2 separate regions of the Homo sapiens genome follow, and region 2 is linked to region 1. Evidence: promoter capture Hi-C in 16 types of primary human blood cells and fetal thymus (Javierre and others, 2016). All regions are on one chromosome and are shown on one strand. Each heading gives the region's core, a stretch centred on a gene start or on the middle of the fragment in contact. The rest is flanking DNA. Distances are from core to core; before and after follow the strand shown.

Region 1 (3,902 bases), core at 754-3,253:
TACAGAATTGATCTCACCTTTTTCAACATTATCTAATATGCCTGAAATGTGAGTAAATGCGGGAGAATCGTGATCAACTAAATTAGAGGATTTGGGAAGATTACGCTAAAGAAGATTTTTATGTCATATTAAGGACTTATAAATTTCTCATATAAGTAATGATAACCCACTGAAAGACTTCAAAAACAGAAATCACAGGACTGTACTTTTGAGTTATGAAGATCCTGGTGACAGTGTTAAAGGTGTGAGTGAGATCAGACTGGAAAAAGAGCTAACAATTAGAAGAAAATTATGAGTACTTAAATAAAAGGGAGAGATGACTCTGAAGGTAATTTGGCAGTCAACTGAAATGCATATACCCAGTAGTTTCATTTGTAGATATAAACCCAGAGACATAATCCCACATATGAATGAATACATTGCTCTAGAAGCTCACTGTGCTGATATTTGCAATATAAAAAAAGTAAAAACCTCAATGAACACCAATAGGGGAATGAGTATAGATGGACTATCAAACAAGAGTTAAAAGGAATGAATTAGATCTATCTATCTATATATGTGTGTGTGTGTGTGTGTATATATATATATAATCATGGTTAAATTTCAAAAATAAAATGAATTAAAAATTAAGTTGCAGACAAATGTACACTGCAGCATATTATTTATGTAAAACAAATAAAACAGCATTATATATGTTCTATTTACCTACAATGACTACAGTCCCTGAGTGCTTTCTCAAGAAATAGTGCCATGTACTATTTTTTTTTTTTTTCCTGAAGAAACAGTGCCAGGTACTGCTCTAAGCACTTTGGATTAACTCGTTTCTTCCTCACAACATCCTTATGACATAGGCACTGTTACTATCCCATTTTATAGATGGAGAAACTGAGGCAAGGAGTTTCAGGATCTTCTCAAAGGCTTGCAGATAAGAAGTGACAGAGCCAGGATTCAAACCCAGGCAGTATGATCCAAAATAAAAAAATGTAAAACTGTAAACATTTCATGCCAAATTCTGAATGCTGTTGATTCTGGACAAGGAAGTGTCCAGGATAGGTGAGTAGAGGTAGAAGGAGACTTTAGTTATATCTGAAATATCTTTTAAGGATGTAGTCAAACAACGTTTAAACAATGTGTTCATTTTTTCCCATAAAAAATGTAAATATATTTAAAAGTCTAGGACAAAAGATGCTAACATGCCATTCTGTCATGGATGACTACGGTTGATGGAAATATGGGGGACTATTCTTACAACTTGTTTGTAGTTTTCAGTATCTTTCAACTTTAAAAAAGGCAATATTGTATGCGCAACTATTTTCTTTCAATTGTTTTTAACTGACGAATAAAATTTGTTCCAGTCCCTTTAAATCTAAATCTTTCTCAACCTTGACACTATTGACATTTTGGGCTGGATAACTGTTGTGAATTTTCATGTACACTGGAGGATGTTTGGCAGCTTCCCTGGTCTCTATCCACTAGTAGCCAGTGAGCATCTCTTTTGCCCCCGGCCCCTAGCAGTGGTGACTAAAAATGTCTCCAGAGGTTGCCAAAGGTCCCCTGGGTGGTAAAACCGCCCCCCCCACACACACCCCCCCACCCCCCCGGCTGAACACAACTACCTTAATAAGCCGAAACACGCTTTTTTTAACTTTATATAATTATTTGAGATTAAAGATTTCAGAGATATTTTGCTCATTAAGCATCTCACACTCCAAGTTGGAAGGATACTGAAGGGATGAAAAAAACTTCAAGCGAATGTAGCACTTAAAATCCAATTATCATTGCAAGGAATGACAGACCCAGGTCTCGGGATGCCCGCTTCCTTCCCTCTCTCCCGCAATGCGGGGACAAGGGGAGGAAATCCAGCCCCATCGCCCCCTCTGCGAAGTCCTGGGAAGGGAAGACTCGCCAGCCCCATCCTACCTCAACGCAGCGGCAACATACCGGAGGCCCCACGTCGATACGGTATCCATCTGCTCCAAACCTCCCGCCAGCGCGCTGCATCCTGGGAGGCCGGGCGGAGGCTGCGTCGAACGCAGAGGAGGCGGAGCCTAGAAGCCAGCCAGGAGAGGTGGCCAAGGGAGGCTGAGGAGGCGGGGCCCTGGGGAGTGTTGTGAAAGCAGAGAGCCCGCGAGCTCTCTAGGGCGGAGCTCCGCGGGGGAAGCGCCGGCGATCTCGCGGCTGGCGGGGGCGGGACCGCAGTGCGGGGGATGTCGCGGGGCGAGGCCAGACGAGAATCGAATGGGACCTAGGCTGAGGGCCTGGTCCCGCCTCCAGACCCAGGCGTCCGCATTGGATTGGGCGGTGCGGCGGCGCTTCTGTCCGCCTTCCGGTGTCACGCGACCGCCTCCCCCTCCCACCCTTCTCTGTCTACCTCTGGGCGGGACTGCCGGGTGATGAGATACTCGGTCGGCGACGGTAGAACGGGCGACGGCGACAACCGCAATCACATCCACGACGGTGATCATGGCAGAGGTGAGGAGCCTATTGCACCGCCGCTGGCCCCCCGGACCCGGAAGCCGCCTCTGAGGCCCGGGGACCGAGCGCCCGTGTGCAGGTGGGCTGGGTTGAGGGTAAGCGGGTTGATGCAAGTAGTATCTAAGGTCCCATCGTGTCTCCCATCCAGAATCACGCCCAGAATAAAGCCAAGCTCATCTCTGAGACCCGGAGGAGGTTCGAAGCTGAGTATGTGACAGGTGGGTACTCTGTTCCAGGTATTAAGAAAGGTGTGCAGTGAGCATCCCCAACTTTGCTGGAGTGTTTGTGAGTGTATTTGTGGGAGGTGTTAGGGACCCTTTCGACCCTCACAGGAATGATGCTGGGCACGTCTCAAAGGTTTTCCTCTCCATGACAAGCCGTGTGCACTGCTTCAAATGGTCAAGTGGTGTGTCCCATGCTCCCTTTAAAGGGTTAATGTAAGTTGGAAATCGGTTAAGTTTTTAGCATGCCCTCGTGTTTATGGAACTTGCAGGATACTTGTTAGGCCCACAACACGGGTGACATTGTCCAGTCCACGGTTCCACTGCTGGCCTTTCACCAGCAACACTAGCGAAAATGTACCTGGAAACTGCCATAATACTATTGATGTGTACTTAATTGGGTATACAAATTCCTTGGATATTTTGTTTGATTTGGCTTTCATACAACCCAGCATGCTACCCACAAAATAGGCCCTCCAATGCTGGAACAAGTTCTTATCCCAAACTGTATCTTGCAAAGTACCTATGAGTCCAGAATTGATTTATTGGTTGAACATTCTGTGTCCAGATGTCACAGATACTTGAGTTGTCAGGTACTTAACTGAATATTTAATGCTTGTACAGTAATTTTGTAAAACATACGGAATAACTTATTGTAAATATGGAATTAAATAAGGATTTATATGTTGCCTACCTTAAGATTGATTGTAATCCTAACCCTGCCACTACATAGCTTACTTGTCTATTCTGAGCCCGTTTTCATATCTGTGAAGTGCAAATAATAAAGTTAGTAGGATTAAATTTTTTAAAAAAACATAAACCATCTAGCATGTCTTAAAATATAGTGGATTCTCAGTGAATATTTTGCCTCAGTTGTCATTTTGGTTACTGTGAAAGGAGTTAAGCTTCTACATCTTGACTAGTACTCAGCAGAGGTTCCCTGCAACTTTAAACCATCCTAGATTATACATCAGTTGATGACATAGAACAAATATGGAAATCGGTTTCAAATACTTGTCAGTAAATCTTTTCATACCTCCTTGCCAATTTTCTTCACACCCCAAACTTTGTTCCAGAGAGTTGCAAAAGCACTTGATTCACTTTTCACCCAGAGTTCCCATTTCTAATAATATAGCTGGTTCCAATAAAGAGATCCTTCTTCAATTGCTTTCTACAGAAATGTAACTATTATAGCTGTTAATACAT
Region 2 (3,871 bases), core at 550-3,049, 2.1 Mb before region 1:
CGCCGCGCTTTCCCGCTCCCGCAGCAGCAGCCTCCCGCGTCGCTGTCGCTGTTGCCTCCGCCACCTCCTCCGCCGCCGCGCGCCCCTCGGAGTTCCGCGCCCCACCATGCCCAACATCGTGCTGTTCAGCGGCAGCTCGCATCAGGACCTGTCCCAGCGCGTGGCCGACCGCCTGGGCCTGGAGCTGGGCAAGGTGGTCACGAAGAAGTTCAGCAACCAGGAGACCAGGTGGGGGCCGCGCCGGCGGCCGGGCTAGGGAGAGCGCTGGGCACGCGGCTGCGGGGCCGGGTTGGGGGCCGGCGCCTGCCCGGGCCACCTCCGCGGACGCCGCGCTCCCCCTTCCGGGGCGGGACGGTGGCAACGCGGCCTCCGCGCCCCCGCGCCCGCGCCTGCGAAGAAACCGAGGCGGGGCGCCGCGCGTCCCGATGCGCGCCTCGGCTGTGCCCCCGGTTGCAGGGCCTCCGGTCCTGGGACCGCGGCGACCCGGCGGTCCCGAGCCGCTCCCGGCCTCCCAGCGGTGCCGCCCGGCCTGGCGTCCCCAGCCCGGAAGGGAGACGTCTGGGCGGTCACAGACCGTCGGGGAGAGAGTGGGCGCAGCGGGCGGGAACCGCATCGGGTCAGCGCGCGGTGGAGAGACGTCCTGGGTTGGCTGGTCCCAGTTTCCGCGTCCCTACAAAGCTGAACCTCAGACCAGTGCGTGCGACTAAAGGTTTCCCCCCGTCCCCAACTCTGGTTGCACGCTGGGTTTACCTGGGGACGGTCCGAACGCTGCTTCCCCCGACCTGCCCCCAAGGGTTTGATCCAACGGGCGGAGGATCAGCGATTTTACAAGCTTCCCTGGCTTCTCCTGAGCAGCCAGGGCGCAGACCACTGCGTTATCCAGAGGGTGCAGTTGTGCCAAGGTTTGAAAGACTGTGAGAACCCCAGGACGCACGTGCTGGGCTCCCCTCTGCTCCCACTACTCTTGCTGCTTTAAAGATGATGGACTTTCAGCTTCCTTCTTGTTCTAGGACTCTGCTGTGTCCAGCAACAACGCCGTGATTCGACTGTAACTTTCACCCATTTCTCAAGTCCAGGAGAGCCTCAGGTGGTGGCCATCCTCGGAAGCTGACCTGGGGGGCTCCTTTGTCTATCTGCCTGAGTCCACACAGCTCCTTGACTCATTTCAAATTGGTCTCATTTTTCCCCCTTCTTCCTCCAATGTCTAGTACCGTTAACTGTCCACAGTTACTGATAATTTTTATATCTTTGGCAAAGGTTCAATTTTACCAACATTTTCTAGAAATGGTGTTGGAACAGTTGGACACCCATATGCCAAAAAATATGAACTTCCATCCATACTTTTCACCATTTGTAAAAATTAACTTTGAAGTGGATCATAGACCTAATTGTAAAATCTAGAACTATAAAATTTCTAGCAGAAAATCTTGACTTGGGGTTAGGCAAAAATTTCTTAAGGAGGAGTTATGTTAATACTGATGGGGAAGATGCTATATTTTGGCAAGTCAGCTTTTTAGGATATGTGAATCTTACGTGACTTCTTCCAGGTGGCAAATTCCAGTTATGGCTCCGATGATAATATAAGCGAAGAAACATTGTGAATGAGTGGCAGGTGGACTTTGGCTAAAGAATTCCACTCTGCAGTGTTTAATGCAGAAGTCTGAGAGGATGGTCTAGGGCTCTGGAGAAGGATAGAGCTAGGTTTGAGTGTTGCAGTATTTTGCCAGTCTTGTTCAAGTTTCAGTCGCTGTAAGAACACGAGAAGAAGAATAGTTTTTGTTCAGAAGGTGTCGTCATATAAGTAAAGGAGAAATTTGTTGATGAAGTAAATTTTGAAAGCAAATATGTTGCCCTTCCAGGTACTCAGTGCAGCATGATCTTTTGCTAAGGAGCATGGTTAATCTAGATCAGTTCACTGCTAAGTCAGTGTTGAGTTTCTCCTAAAAATACCACATGTGCCACTGGGCAAAACTCACTCAGACACTGAAGTATGATTGTTTATACATTTGGTTCAAATATAAAGCAGACTCACTTTTATTTTGTTTTTGGCATTTTATAACCATCACTTGATAATTAGAAATCGTGGGACCTCAAAAACCACTCAGCATGAAGTTTGGGAATTGCCTATATAGCTACATTTTATGTTTTTAATGTATAGAGTATAAAAGGTTCACTGCCTGACTTTTCTCTTTTCCATGAACTGTACAAGTACAGAGCTTAATTTTTATAAACAGCCCTCTCTGGACCAGTTACTGTGCTAGGAATCCAGCTTTTAGCTGTGTAATCGTAGAGAGGAAAAACTGAAGGGCAAAATGAAGACAAAATTGATTCAGTTCATGTAAGGGCCCCTTCTTGAATCTGTCACTGAACTAGGATCAGAAATCTGGTTTGCTGTCTCCTGGCCATCAATCCTCCCATTTTGCGTTTTTTATATGCTACTTTACTGAACATAGAGCCTTCCAATTTTACCTTCTTATCCCTAAATCATTTCAGATATGCAGGGAGAGGTCCGCTCCAGCTTCACTATAGACCATGGAAATTCCATGATGACATCTTAGGACAGCAGGTGTCTAGATGTCTCTGTTGTAACATTTTACTATGGTCAGTTAACCTGCTGGCAGAATCTTTAGCTATACTGTGAGACAAGGTTATGCAAAGTTATACAAGGTTATCGGTTACCATGTAATAAATAAAGAGCTTAATGGCTTAAAACAGTAATTGTTGATTTGGCTTACAAATCTGCAATTTGGGAAGGGCTCAGTGAAGAAAGCTTGTTTTTGCCGCGTATGGTCACAGCTGAGGCTGGTCACAGCTGAGGCGGCTAACTGGGGCTGGAGGGTTCTTGAAGATGGCTCACATGACTGAAGTTGTTACTAGCTTTTGCCTGGGAGCTTGGTTAGGAACCTCAGCTCCTCTTCTTGTAGGCCTCTCCATGGGGCTGCTTGAGCTTCCTTACAGCATGGAAGCTGGGTTCTAAGAGCACATGTTCCAAAAGACAGGACATTGAAGCCACCAGTCCATTAAGGACTGGGCTTGCAAGTTGGTGTATCATAATTTCTGTCATATGCTGTTGGGCAAGTACAGAGCCCTCTCAGATTCAAGGGCGGGAGACTAGACCCTGCTCCTTGATGGGAAATGTGTTAAGAGTCTGTGGCTATCTTTTAGTTACCATGCCCGTTTATTGTTGAGTCAGTGACGCTCTTCAGCGTTTTTATTTGGGGGTCAATAAAGATCCTCTGGCAGAATGGCAAATGGATGCTGCCTTCTAGCCACAATTTTTTAAAGACCTAGAATAAAGGTAGTCATGATCATCTTTTTGAGTAGAAGCAGGACTAGCTTTAGGGGAAAAGTTGCCATGGTGATGATATTCTCTGTCCTCCCCTGGACTGCTAGTCATATGAGAACTGAGGTTCCTGAGTAAAAACAGGCCAAAGAATCTAATCTTGTGGGATAAACGTCATAAGACCAGGAGTTGGCAAAGTTTTTCTGCAAAGGGCCAAATCGTAAATATTTTAGGCAGTGCTAGCACATGTAGTCTCTGTTGCTGCGGTATCTTACAGTTCTGTAAGTTACGGTAATGTCTGTCACAGGTTAGCAGGGCTGTATTCTCTTCTGAGGCTCTAGGGGAGAATCTGTTCCCGTGCCTTTTCCGGTTTCCAGAGGCAGCCCACATTCCTTCACTATTGGCCTCTTCACCTTCAATGTCAGCAACAAAATGTTGCTCTGACCCTGCTTCTGCTGTCTCCCTCTTGCATTTTTAAGGGCCCCATGATTACAATGGGCCAATTTAAATAATCCAGGATAATTTCCCCATGTTAAGGTCAGCTGATGAGCAACCTGAATGCTATCTGCAAATTTACTTCCCCTTTGC

What was found. Contacts are between HindIII fragments. The CHiCAGO score rates a contact against its expected background, and 5 or more counts as called.
Region 2: a fragment that was not itself captured here is called in contact with the fragment with the promoter of FANCB in region 1 in 1 of 17 cell types (non-activated CD4 T cells); the score reaches 11.7 in non-activated CD4 T cells.

Annotation. Positions count from the first base shown.
Region 1 is chrX:14,871,066-14,874,967 of GRCh38, forward strand. FANCB (FA complementation group B) reads right to left here and starts at 2,004. Exons shown (of 10, transcript NM_001018113.3): 1 at 1,921-2,004. MOSPD2 (motile sperm domain containing 2) reads left to right here and starts at 2,356. Exons shown (of 15, transcript NM_152581.4): 1 at 2,356-2,472; 2 at 2,624-2,693. The coding sequence starts at 2,464. RefSeq lists a silencer at 2,094-2,323. The HindIII fragment of the contact is 4,870 bases long and covers 1-3,599 here.
Region 2 is chrX:12,791,392-12,795,262 of GRCh38, forward strand. It overlaps PRPS2 (phosphoribosyl pyrophosphate synthetase 2), which reads left to right and starts at 21. Exons shown (of 7, transcript NM_002765.5): 1 at 21-228. The coding sequence starts at 107. RefSeq lists a silencer at 277-726. The HindIII fragment of the contact is 1,938 bases long and covers 831-2,768 here.